Regions from separate parts of the Homo sapiens genome. Here all the other regions are linked to region 1. The links are contacts of gene promoters, found by promoter capture Hi-C in human tissues and cell types (Jung and others, 2019). All regions are on one chromosome and are shown on one strand. Each heading gives the region's core, a stretch centred on a gene start or on the middle of the fragment in contact. The rest is flanking DNA. Distances are from core to core; before and after follow the strand shown. Region 1 holds the start of WDR25 (WD repeat domain 25). Region 2 has its middle 15 kb from the start of PPP2R5C. Region 3 holds the start of DYNC1H1 (dynein cytoplasmic 1 heavy chain 1).

Evidence for each region. The method cuts DNA at HindIII sites, captures the fragments that hold promoters and counts their contacts. A contact is called where the count stands out against the background at its distance.
Region 2: a contact is called between a fragment that was not itself captured here and the fragment with the promoter of WDR25 in region 1, in 1 of the 25 tissues and cell types used here (dorsolateral prefrontal cortex).
Region 3: a contact is called between the fragment with the promoter of DYNC1H1 here and the fragment with the promoter of WDR25 in region 1, in 1 of the 25 tissues and cell types used here (mesenchymal stem cells).

The regions. Positions count from the first base shown.
Region 1 is chr14:100,374,458-100,378,619 of GRCh38, reverse strand. WDR25 (WD repeat domain 25) reads right to left here and starts at 2,135. Exons shown (of 7, transcript NM_001161476.3): 1 at 2,125-2,135. WARS1 (tryptophanyl-tRNA synthetase 1) reads left to right here and starts at 3,273. Exons shown (of 11, transcript NM_004184.4): 1 at 3,273-3,337. RefSeq lists silencers at 2,002-2,051, 2,242-2,301 and enhancers at 2,812-3,171, 3,182-3,321. The HindIII fragment of the contact is 17,907 bases long and covers 1-4,162 here.
Region 2 is chr14:101,744,495-101,748,831 of GRCh38, reverse strand. No RefSeq gene overlaps it. Among named protein-coding and RNA genes, the nearest start is that of PPP2R5C, 15 kb to the left of the region's middle. The HindIII fragment of the contact is 7,602 bases long and covers 1-4,337 here.
Region 3 is chr14:101,962,742-101,966,616 of GRCh38, reverse strand. It overlaps DYNC1H1 (dynein cytoplasmic 1 heavy chain 1), which reads right to left and starts at 2,044. Exons shown (of 78, transcript NM_001376.5): 1 at 1,670-2,044. The coding sequence starts at 1,925. RefSeq lists silencers at 1,352-1,561, 2,052-2,211 and enhancers at 1,087-1,696, 1,697-2,307, 2,352-2,491. The HindIII fragment of the contact is 2,222 bases long and covers 1,972-3,875 here.

The sequences.
Region 1 (4,162 bases), core at 886-3,385:
AGGCCCACAGCACAAGGCTAAGGTCCTGAGGTGTCCGTCTACCCAAGTGTGCAGGGAGCAATTCTGAGGGCATGATCCAAATCCACCCATTTCACTCCCAACACACAGATTCACACTGCAATGAATTTCTACTTGTTAAAAAAAATCTTTCTGGGCAGGGCATAGTGGCTCATGCCTGTAATCCCAGCACTTTGGGAGGCCGAGGTGGGCGGATCACCTGAGGTCGAGTTCGAGACCAGCCTGGCCAACATGGTGAAACCCTGTCTCTACTAAAATACAAAAATTAGCCGGGCGTGGTGGCACACGCCTGTAATCCCAGCTACTCGGGAGGCTGAGGCAGGAGAATCATTTAAACCCAGGAGGCAGAGGTTGCAGTGAGCCAAGATCGCGCCATTGCACCCCAGCCTGGGCGACAAGAGTGAAACTTCGTCTCAAAAAAAAAAAAAATCTTTCTGAAATTCTGAACCATCATACACAATACATGGTTATCAATTAGTTCCCAGAAAGAAGTGCTTTGGTAATTTTTTACTTCTGTGCTGTTAGCACCAAGCACAATCCAGAGAAAAAGAAGGGTGCTAGGCACTCCTAGGACAGCAGAGGGCGCGGTGGAACAGCACAGAACGCTCAGGCAATAGACCGACTTCCAAGAAAACCCAGTGCACCCAACCTTAATCAAACACGCCAAGCTCCGCCTCCATCCCCCAACAGGTGGAGTCAGGTCAGCATCAACAGATTCCCTCCAAGTCCTTTTCTAAGTCATTCCAGACAGCCTATTACCCATCTCTTCTTCTAGACAATGGGTTTCTATGTCCCCTGGAATCAACCACCCAACCTCTTCCACACCTTTCCCCCAAGTGGCATCATTCGCCTGAGGGTTCCACTGGTCTACAAGTCAGGTCATCATTCCATAAATGTCTGTAGTCAGCCTCCTCTAGTAATGCCGCCCCCGTTCGCAGCCCATTCCAGGCAGGTAACAACTTCCACACGCAAAGCCAGAGTTTAAATAAAACGACCGGGCGCGGTGGCTCACGCCTGTAATCCTAGCACTGTAGGAGGCCGAGAAGGGCGGATTACCTGAGGTCGGGGGTTCAAGACCAGCCTGGCCAACATGGTGAAACCCCGTCTCTACTAAAAATACAAAAAAAAAAAAAATTTAGCCGTGTGCAGTGGTGCGCGCCTGTAATCCCAGCTACTCTGGAGGCTGAGGCCGCAGAATTGCTTGAACCCGGGAGGCGGAGGTTGCGGTGAGTGGAGATCACGCCACTGCACTCCAGCCTGGGCTACAGAGCGAGACTTGGTCTCAAAAAACAACAACAACAACAACAACTTCTAAAGCCAGCCAGCCAGCTCATCTCCAATGGAACTAATATAATATGAAAGACTAATTATAAACTAATGGAACCGTGCACTGCAAATAATTTGGCATTTCTGTTCTCTAAATGCTAAGCCTGGTCCCGAGGCCACTCTCAACTCCTCTGCCCAGGCACCACCCACCATGCACCCAGATTCCCACCACCAGGGTGCCCGTGCTCCCTCTGGAAGGAGATGAGGGATTAAACGAAGAGGAACAGACAGTAAGATGGAAGGGAAGGCAGGGACACTGGAGAAGAGTCTAAGGAAGGAGCGAGTGACTCTGACAGTCACTATCAGCAAGTCAGCCCCATGAGGACAGGACTTTCTGTGTTTTGTTCACTATTCAATGCCCAGCGTCTAAAAATATTTCTGGAATGCAAACGGGTGGGAGGGGGAGATGCTAGGAAGTAAAAGAAATAGGATATTCCCATTCAACAAACATTTCCTGATTACGTACTCTTTGTCAAGCCCTATGCTGGGTCTGGTGTGGGTGGAAATCAAACACAAAACACAGATCCCCCCGGAGGCCCCAGAGCGATGAAAGCAACAAACAAGATACGACCAGAGATGGGTTTTGAAGGATGAATAGGAGTTAGCTGAGCTGTCAATAGTAAGAAGTAAGGTTGGTCCAAGGCACAGCGCTTTCTGAAGGAACAGGAAGTGAAAGGAAGGCGAGCGGCTATGAGAGACCGCGTTAAGCGGCACGGGGCGCTTTAGGCGCTGCCCAGTCCCGGCCCCTCCAGCCCGGGGCCCGCCGCTCACCACACGCACCGGAAGCGCTCGGTTCTCCCGGAGGCAGACCGGCCAGCACACTACCATCCAGTCACGTTCCGACGCGACGCCGCGGCCGCCAGCCAATCAGTGGCGGCCTCTGCCCCGCCCCCGCGCGAACAGCCAATGACGGCGCCGTCGGGCCGGAAGTTGTTCCGTCCGGACGGCGTTTCCACGGACGCCCAGGAGACAGCCGGTTGCTGAGCCGGGAGCGCTGACTGGCCCGGCTGGGCAGGGTAAGCGAGGGGAGTAAGGCCGGGGCGGAGTGAGGAAACAAGGGAGGGAGTGATGGAGGGACGCTGGCGCGGCGCCCAGTGGCCTGGCCCTCCCGGGAGTATCCTTAGAGCCCGGCTTGCTGCCCGCCGCGTTCTGGCACTGTGAGGCGCGGAGCCTGCCACCGACCCCTCGCCCCTTTCCTCTGAGCGCCGCCGACCCACCCCGTCTCCCTTTCCCACTGGCACCCTTCATCGTCTCCGCCTGTTCGCTTTTCCCGAGGAGAGAGGCCCCCATTTTTATTTAGCGCCTGCCATGTGCCAGAGGCTTTGCGTAGTGTTGCACTTAGTCCCCTCAACGGTAATGTTAGCAGGCTTCTCCATGCCCATTCCACAGATGAGGAAACCGAAGGGGAAGCAGAAAAGTAATGCGACCCTTGCCCAAGGTTTCGAATAAGTCCAAGCTGGGATTGAAACCCAGGCGTCTGTGACCCCAGAACTCCTGATCTTTCCACTGCACTGTGCCGCCTCGGTGAACAGATGCGGGGAATTTACAGTTTCTCTTTCCACCGCCCACGACTACACAAAATCAGTCACACTGACGCTGAGGGTGGGGAACGGGAAGAGGGTGGGGAGGTTATTTGGAGGCCAGCGGGGGGTGAGGGGTGGCTGATGCAATGACCAGCTAATGGCTCGATTCTCAAGAGGGTTTCATTGGTCTCAACCTGGCCCCCCAGGCAACCCACCCCTGATTGGACAGTCTCATCAAGAAGGTTGGTCAAGAGCTCAAGTGTTTCTGAGAATCTGGGTGATTTATAAGAAACCCTTAGCTGAATGCAGGGTGGGGAGAACGAAAGACAAAAGCATCTTTTTTCAGAAGGGAAACTGAAAGAAAGAGGGGAAGAGTATTAAAGACCATTTCTGGCTGGGCAGGGCACTCTCAGCAGCTCAACTGCCCAGCGTGACCAGTGGCCACCTCTGCAGTGTCTTCCACAACCTGGGTATGTATTGCCATCTTTGCCAGGCTTAGAGCTTGTTCGTGTTTTTAGCAAAGTGCTGAAAACCTTGGTTTAGGGGGTCAGGACTTGTGTCTTAGGATTAGGGTGTTATGCATTTTACTTCTTCCATTGACCCAAAGTTCAGGTGATTCACTGCTCCCATAGGGAACAGAGATCCTGGCTGAGCAGTCGCGGGCTTGGATCCGTAGCTTGCCTCTCAGCACCGTCATGCTGTCTGTCATAATTTTCACTGATGCACCCTCCTTCTGTGCTCAACATCAGAACGTATTGTCATTCTTATTGTGACACCCAAAAGTGTCTCGTGCCTGGCTTCATAGAAATTAATGTCTTTGCCTTTTAAGATAATGTTCATGCTGTTATTTGGCGGGGAAAGCAATCTTTCTTTTAGTGTTTAAAAAAAATGGAACATGATGGGTCCCAAAAGGTGTCAAGAAATCCTTGCTCTAAAGAAGTCATTTTCTTGTCCTCTGGGAACTTGCCAGTCCAAAGGTATTGTCACCTACACTCTGGGGCCAAGATAGAAAGGATGGTATTCTACCTCCTGGTGGTATTCCAGGGATCCAGAAACACTCCTGGGCCACATTCTCTTCTCACCTGCTCCAGAATTGGCTGTCTTGATGCCACCCTTCCCCAGATTGCAGAATCAGCGTGCCCTGATCTCTGTGAGATGATTTTGATGCAACCCAAGTCTTTATCATGTTGTTCTGTTAAACAATTCTATAGTCCTTTCCACTCCTCATCCCAATACAATACCCAGTTTCTTTAAGTGCCTATTATGCTCCTCCACCACAGTGGAAACTTTCAGAA
Region 2 (4,337 bases), core at 1,629-4,128, 1.4 Mb before region 1:
TGAAAGTGACAGGGAGAATGGAACCAAGTTGGAAAACACTCTTCAGGATATTATCCAGGAGAACTTCCCCAACCTAGCAAGGCAGGCCAACATTCAAATTCAGGAAATACAGAGAACACCACAAAGATACTCCTCGAGAAGAGCAACCCCAAGACATATAATTGTCAGATTCATCAAGGTTGAAATGAAGGAAAAAATGTTAAGGGCAGCCAGAGAGAAAGATTGGGTTACCCATAAAGGGAAGCACATCAGACTAACAGCGGATCTCTCAGCAGAAACCCTACAAGCCAGAAGACAGTGGGGGCCAATATTCAACATTCTTAAAGGAAAGAATTTTCAACCCAGAATTTCATATCCAGCCAAACTAAGCTTCATAAGTGAAGAAGAAATACAATCCTTTACAGACAAGCAAATGCTGAGAGATTTTGTCACCACCAGGCCTGCCTTACAAGAGCTCCTGAAGGAAGCACTAAACGTGGAAAGGAACAACTGGTACCAGCCACTGCAAAAACATGCCAAATTGTAAAGACCATCGATGCTAGCAAGAAACTGCATCAACTAACGGGCAAAATAACCAGCTAACATCATAATGACAGGATCAAATTCACACATAACAATATTAACCTTAAATGTAAATGGGCTAAATGCCCCAATTAAAATACACAGACTGGCAAATTGGATAAAGAGTCAAGACCCATCAGTGTGCTGTATTCAGGAGAGCCATCTCACGTGCAGAGACACACATAGGCTTAAAATAAAGGGAAGGAGGAAGATCTACCAAGCAAACGGAAAGCAAAAAAAAAAGCAGAGGTTGCAATCCTCGTCTCTGATAAAACAGATTTGAAACCAACAAAGATCAAAAGAGACAAAGAAGGCCATTACATAATAGTAAAGGGATCAATTCAATTCAACAAGAAGAGCTATCCTAAATATATATATGCACCCAATACAGTAGCACTCAGATTCATAAAGCAAGTCCTTAGAGACCTACAAAGAGACTTAGACTCCCACACAATAATAATGGGAGACTTTAACACCCCACTGTCAATATTAGACAGATCAATGAGACAGAAGGTTAACAGCGATATCCAGGACTTGAACTCAGCTCTGCACCAAGCAGACCTAATAGACATCTACAGAACTCTCCCCTCAAATCAACAGAATATACATTTTTCTCAGCACCACATCACAGTTATTCCAAAACTGACCACATAGTTGGAAGTAAAGCACTCCTCAGCAAATGTAAAAGAATAGAAATCACAACAAACTGTTTCTTAGACTACAGTGCAATCAAATTAGAACTCAGGATTAAGAAATTCACTCAAAACCACACAACTACATGGAAACTGAACAACCTGCTCCTGAATGACTACTGGGTAAATAATGAAATGAAGGCAGAAATAAAGATGTTCTTTGAAACCAATGAGAACAAAGACACAATGTACCAGAATCTCTGGGACACATTTAAAGCAGTGTGTAGAGGGAAATTTTTAACACTAAATTCCCACAAGAGAAAGAGGAAAGATCTAAAATCAACACCCTAACATCTCAATTAAAAGAACTAGAGAAGCAAGAGCAAACTTCAAAAGCTAGCAGAAGGCAAGAAATAACTAAGATCAGAGCAGAACTGAAGTAGATAGAGACACAAAAAAACCTTCAAAAAATCAATGAATCCAGGAGCTGGTTTTTTGAAAAGATCAACAAAATTGATAGACCACTAGCAAGACTAATAAAGAAGAAAAGAGAGAAGAATCAAATAGATGCAATACAAAATGATAAAGGGGATATCACCACAGATCCCACAGAAATACAAACTACCATCAGAGAATAAACTAGAAAATCTAGAAGAAATGGATAAATTCCTGGACACATACACCCTCCCAAGACCAAACCAGGAAGAAGTTGAATCTCTGAATAGACCAATAACAGGCTCTGAAATTGAGGCAATAATTAATAGCCTACCAACCAAAAAAAGTCCAGGACCAGATAGATTCACAGCTGAATTCTACCAGAGGTACAAAGAGGAGCTGGTACCATTCCTTCTGAAACGATTCCAATCAATAGAAAAAGAGGGAATCCTCCCTAAATCATTTTATGAGGCCAACATCATCCTGATACCAAAGCCTGGCAGAGACACAACAAAAAAGGCAATTTTAGACCAATATCCCTGATGAACATCGATGTGAAAATTCTCAATAAAATACTGGCAAACTGAATCCAGCAGCACATCAAGAAGCTTATCTACCACGATCAAGTCAGCTTCATCCCTGGGATGCAAGGCTGGTTCAACATATGCAAATCAATATATGCAATCCATCACATAAACAGAACCAATGACAAAAACCACATGATTATCTCAATAGATGCAGAAAAGGCCTTTGACAAAATCCAACAACCATTCATCCTAAAAACTCTCAATAAATTAGGTATTGATGGAATGTATCTCAAAATAATAAGAGCTATTTATGACAAACCCACGGCCAATATCATACTGAACGGGCAAAAACTGGAAGCATTCCCTTTGAAAAGTGGCACAAGACAGGGATGCCCTCTCTCACCACTCCTATTCAACACAGTGTTGGAAGTTCTGGCCAGGACAGTCAGGCAAGAGAAAGAAATAAAGGGTATTCAATTAGGAAAAGAGGAAGTCAAATTGTCCCTGTTTGCAGATGACATGATTGTATATTTAGAAAACCCCACTGTTCTCAGCCCAAAATCTCCTTAAGCTGATAAGCAACTTCAGCAAAGTCTCAGGATACAAAATCAGTGTGCAAAAATCACAAGCATTCCTATACACCATTAACACACAAACAGAGAGCCAAATCATGAGTGAACTCCCATTCACAACTGCTACAAAGAGAATAAAATACCTAGGAATCCAACTTACAAAGGATGTGAAGGACCTCTTCAAGGAGAACTACAAACCACTGCTCAAGGAAATAAAGAGAATACAAACAAATGGAACAACATTCCATGCTCATGGGTTGGAAGAATCAATATCGTGAAAATGGCCATACTGCCCAAAGTAATTTATAGATTCAATGCCATCCCCATCAAGCTACCAATGACTTTCTTCACAGAATTGGAAAAAACTACTTTAAAGTTCATATGGAACCAAAAAAGAGCCTGCATTGCCAAGACAATCCTAAGCCAAAAGAACAAATCTGGAGGCATCACGCTACCTGACTTCAAGCTATACTACAAGGCTACAGTAACCAAAACAGCATGGTACTGGTACTAAAACAGAGAGATAGACCAATGGAACAGAACAGAGGCCTCAGAAATAACACCACACATCTACAACCATCTGATCTTTGACAAACCAACAAAAACAAGAAATGGGGAAAGGATTCCCTATTTAATAAATGGTGCTGGGAAAACTAGCTAGCCATATGTAAAAAGCTGAAACTGGATCCCTTCCTTACACATTATACAAAAATTAATTCAAGATGGATTAAAGACTTAAATGTTATACCTAAAACCATAAAAACCCTAGAAGCAAACCTAGGCAATACCATTCAGGACATAGGCATGTGCAATTTCATGACTAAAACACCAAAAGCAATGGCAACAAAACCAAAATAGACAAATGGGATCTAATTAAACTAAACAGCTTCTGCACAGCAAAAGAAACTACCATCAGAGTGAACAGGCCACCTACAGAATGGGAGAAAATTTTTGCAATCTACCCATTTGACAAAGGGCTCATATCCAGAATCTACAAAGAACTTAAACAAATTTACAAGAAAAAAAACAACCCCATCAAAAAGTGGGCAAAGGATATGAACAGACACTTCTCAAAAGAAGACATTTATGCAGCCAACAGACACATGAAAAAATGTTCATCGTCACTGGTCATCAGACAAATGCAATCAAAACCACAGTGAGACAGCATCTCACACCAGTTAGAATGGCAGTCATTAAAAAGTCAGGAAACAACAGATGCTGGAAAGGATGTGGAGAAATAGGAACGCTTTTACACTGTTGGTGGAGTGTAAACTAGTTCAACCATTGTGGAAGACAGTGTGGCAATTCCTCAAGGAGCTAGAACTAGAAATACCATTTGGCCCAGAGATACTATTACTGGGTATATACCCAAAGGATTATAAATCATGCTACTGTAAAGACACATGCACACGTATGTTTATTGCGGCACTATTCACAATAACGAAAACTTGGAACAACCCAAATGTCCATCAGTGATAGACTGGATTAAGAAAATGGCGCATATACACCATGGAATACTATGCAGCCATAAAAAAGGATGAGTTCGTGTCCTTTGCAGGGACATGGATAAAGCTGGAAACCATCATTCTGAGCAAACTATCACAAGGGCA
Region 3 (3,875 bases), core at 795-3,294, 1.6 Mb before region 1:
TTAAAAATGCAGATTAAAATGTATTTTAATAAAATGACGAATATGCATTGAAAAATGACCACAAAGACATAAACCAAAAATGCTGACAGTGATTATATCTGGGTCAAACAATTCCCAGTGATTTTTACTTTAGCTGTATAGTACATTTTCTACAATGACTATATGTTTTTTGGAAAAAAAAAAGAGTAGATAAATTTTTTTTTTTTAACTTTTGTGGCTTCCACTTAGGAATACATAATCCCAAACATCACAGTAAACAACCCTCAAAAACATTAATACTCTAAATATGCTCAAATGGTTTATTTGCCTTGAACATTCCACGTGGATATAAGAAAAAAATATTCTTTTACACCCTGCTAATCTCTGGCAGGAAACCAAGGCTACAGGGAAGCATCTTCTGAGTAAGAATAGCCTTTGAAAGAAACAAACCATCAGAAACACAGTGTGTGTTAAGGATGGGGCAGACAGTACAGGGTCTCTCACTGAGAGAACCATACAGTTTTTTGAAATTTTAAGAAGCTTGTTGGCAAATATTTTTAGACAATCTCCAATCCCTAGAGGCTAACCTTGGACATCATCCTTAGGTTCTTAGATGGACACGCCACACCCAAAGTGGTTGTAATGGGCTACAAAGTGGTTGTAATGAATCCATGAGAAAGCCTGCCTGCAGGCAAGCCCCAGACTTAGATGAATGTAACCTTGCTGGTGGGCGATCATTATTTGAGGAGACAGCTGGAACACGCTAACTCTAGCCTCTTCCCCCTACTAGGTGCCTAACCTGAATCTTTTTTTTTTTTTTTAATCTGTAAAATTAGACTCAAATATTACAGGGTTATCATTAACATCATCGAAGCATTAAACAAATATGAGGTATGATCAGTGAAAACAAGCAGTGGATGGGGAGCTGAGACACTGAGTCTAGTCTCAGGACTAAGATTAGCTGGTGACCTTGGGTGAAATCACTTAACCTGAGCCTCAGTTTCCTCAGGTGTAAAATCAGGATACACCCGTTCAGCAAGGATGCTGTGAGAGCATCCACCTACAACAGTGATGCTCGCAGGCCCGGGGCTGGCACCGTCGCTCTGTGGGCCTCGGCCTCTGGGTCCCCACAAGGCAGGGCTGGGACACCCGCCCGACCTCCTCCCGAACCAGAACCCCGGCTGCCCCCAGCTCCGCGGGTCTGCCCCCGACACATCCCTCCCGAAGGCCACTTGGCTTGGACACAAATCGAAACCGAAAAGCTCATGTGACACTGGAGGCAGGGATGCGGCCTCGCCCGCTCTCAGCCCAGGGAGACGCTGTCTCCACCCAACTCGGCCATCTTGAGAGGCCCGAGCAGACAAAGCGACCCCATTGTTTTGGGTGACGGCAGACGGGGACCCCTTTCCCCTCCCCGCGACCAGGAGCGGGGCGCCCTGGGGGCTCCGGGCCGGGCAGTGGGTGTGGCGAGGGCGAGCCCCGGGCGCCGCGCCGGCCTCTGCGGGGCGTCTGCGGCCCTGGGGACCCGGCCGGCGGGACGTCTGCGGCCGCCGGGCTCTGCCCATCCAGGGGTCATCTGCAGCTGCCGGGCTCCTCCCATCCCGGGGACATCTGCGACCCCGGAGGACCTGGCAGGCCCTGCATTCCGCGAGGCCTGGCTCTGGCGACCCTGCCCTCCGCGGCCCCGCACCTTTGAGCGTGGAGCGCTCCACCAGCACCGTGTGGACCTGCGGGTCCGAAAGGAACTTGCGCATCTGCTCCAGGGCGCTCTTCTCCTCCAGCGCCGCCTCCAGCGCGGCCGGCGCCTCGCCGCCGTCCTCCAGCAGCAGCGGCACCAGCTTGCGCAGGTGCTTCTGCAGCACCGACACGTCCGCCACATTCTGCACGGCCGACACTTCCAATCCGGCCGAGCCGTCCTCGCCGCCGCCGCCCCCGGGCTCCGACATGGTGTCGCGCTCGGGACCTTCCAGGAGCGATGAGAAGGCGGCCGCGACTCAGCGAGACAGCCAGCAAGAGACAGAAACGGCCGCCGGAAGCCGGACCGTCCGCTAGCCCACCGCAGACTGAGGAGAGCGGGAGCCGGCTCCGCCCTAAAGGCAGCCACTGCCAGGTGGCCCCGCCCCGCCCCGCCGGCCGCAGCCGCCGCAGCCACCCGCGCTCGCTCGCGGCCTTAGCGTCACGGCGCCGCGCGTGCGCGGGGGGCGGGCCCGGCGATGTCGCCGCGCGCCCTTCTGGGACTTGTAGTCTCGGCGCTGGTCGGGGCCCGCAGCCTCCGCACTGCGAGTCCTAGGAGATGGGGACTTGGCTCAACGTCCTGGCTCGGCGCCCGGGCTTGGCGAGGTTGGTCAGGGGCTGCGTCTGTCTTCTTCACTGCTGTGGACGCAGCGAATAGCACACAGCCAGAGAAACTTTATAGTGAATCAGTGATGTTATTGGCGAGAGCTAACGTTTAGTGAGCGCTTAGCCTGTGCCCGGCGTTGTTCTAAGCCCCTTAACCTCTCATTAAATGTTCTCTCATTGAATGAATGAATGACTACGTATCAGGTACCAAAATATAGGCACGACAGATGTGTTATTAGATATAGACCGGGAGATTGAGGATACTTTTCAGAGGGGGAGGAGATGAGGGGCGTGCTCAGAGAGTCCCATTGCCAGGCTGGAAACGGACAGCTGGGGAGGGGGCCTTCGGGGCAGTGTAAGGTTAAGCCAGGAATGACACCTTCACTGTACGTAAAGCCAAGCTGTGATGGGATCTGGTTCCTAATGACAAAAATCATTGTCCCCGAGGACGCTGTGAGGACCAAGAGGGAGACCTACTGAGAACAGCTACCTCCAGCAATGGCTCTCCTCCAGCCCCCTAGAGCTGGCACTGTCATTCTGTGGGCCTCAGTATCTGGGTCCGTACAAGGCAGGGGCTGGGTTGCCTGCCCACCAAGTTTCCCCCTAGTTCGGACCCACCACGACCTCCTCCCCTACACCATGACTACATAAGAGCCAGAATCCAGGCTGCCCAGCTGGGTGCGGTGGCTCACACCTGTAATCCTAGCATTTTGAGAGGCTGAGATGGGAGGATTGCTTGAGGCCAGAAGTTCCAAGACCAGCCTGGTCAACCTAGCGAGACCCTATATCTATGTGTATTTAAAAATTAAGAATTTTGTAAAATAATAAAAATAATAGAATCCAGGCTGCCCATCTTTGTAGTTTAGAGATGGTAGGTTCTTCTAAGGGGTAGTAATTGGCCTTTGAAAGTTCACATTCATAACTTCTTTCTTAAGTTGGGTGGAGAGAGGGAAGCCAATGGCGTTTTTTTTTTTTTTGGTTTTTTTGTTTTTTTTAAACATCAAAGTGCACTGTCAGAGTGCCGAGTCCTGATTGGTGGAATGATGATGGTATGATTTGATTCTCCCAAATCATCTTTGAAAAACTGTGAAACATACAATAAGCTTATTCCTTGCCTAATTACCGGTTGCTGGGTCCCAGGGGGTTGCTGGAACACGGAGACTAATCAGATGATTCTTGTCTTTAAGGAGCATGTGGAAGAGGGGACAGATGAATACCCCATCTTCCTGCTCTCCATCAGTCCGCCCTGGTGTGATGTGCCTAAGCAGTTCCGAGTAATCTTCCTGGAAAAAATAAATAGGCAACTGCGATGAGTTTGTGCAAGGATCCTAATGGTAATGAATAATAATAACACACCACTGACAGCGAACGCTGAGTGTTCACTGCGTGCTAGGCACCATGCAGAGGGTTTCCCCTCACATGTACTTTAGGGGTAGAAAGAGGGACAAAGAGGAAAGTCTATTAGGTGCAGATCTGTGAACTCTGAATAGGCCATCCACCATCTGAGACTCAGAAACCTGCAGGGACCTGGCCGATGGGCAGGCTGCATGCTGGCT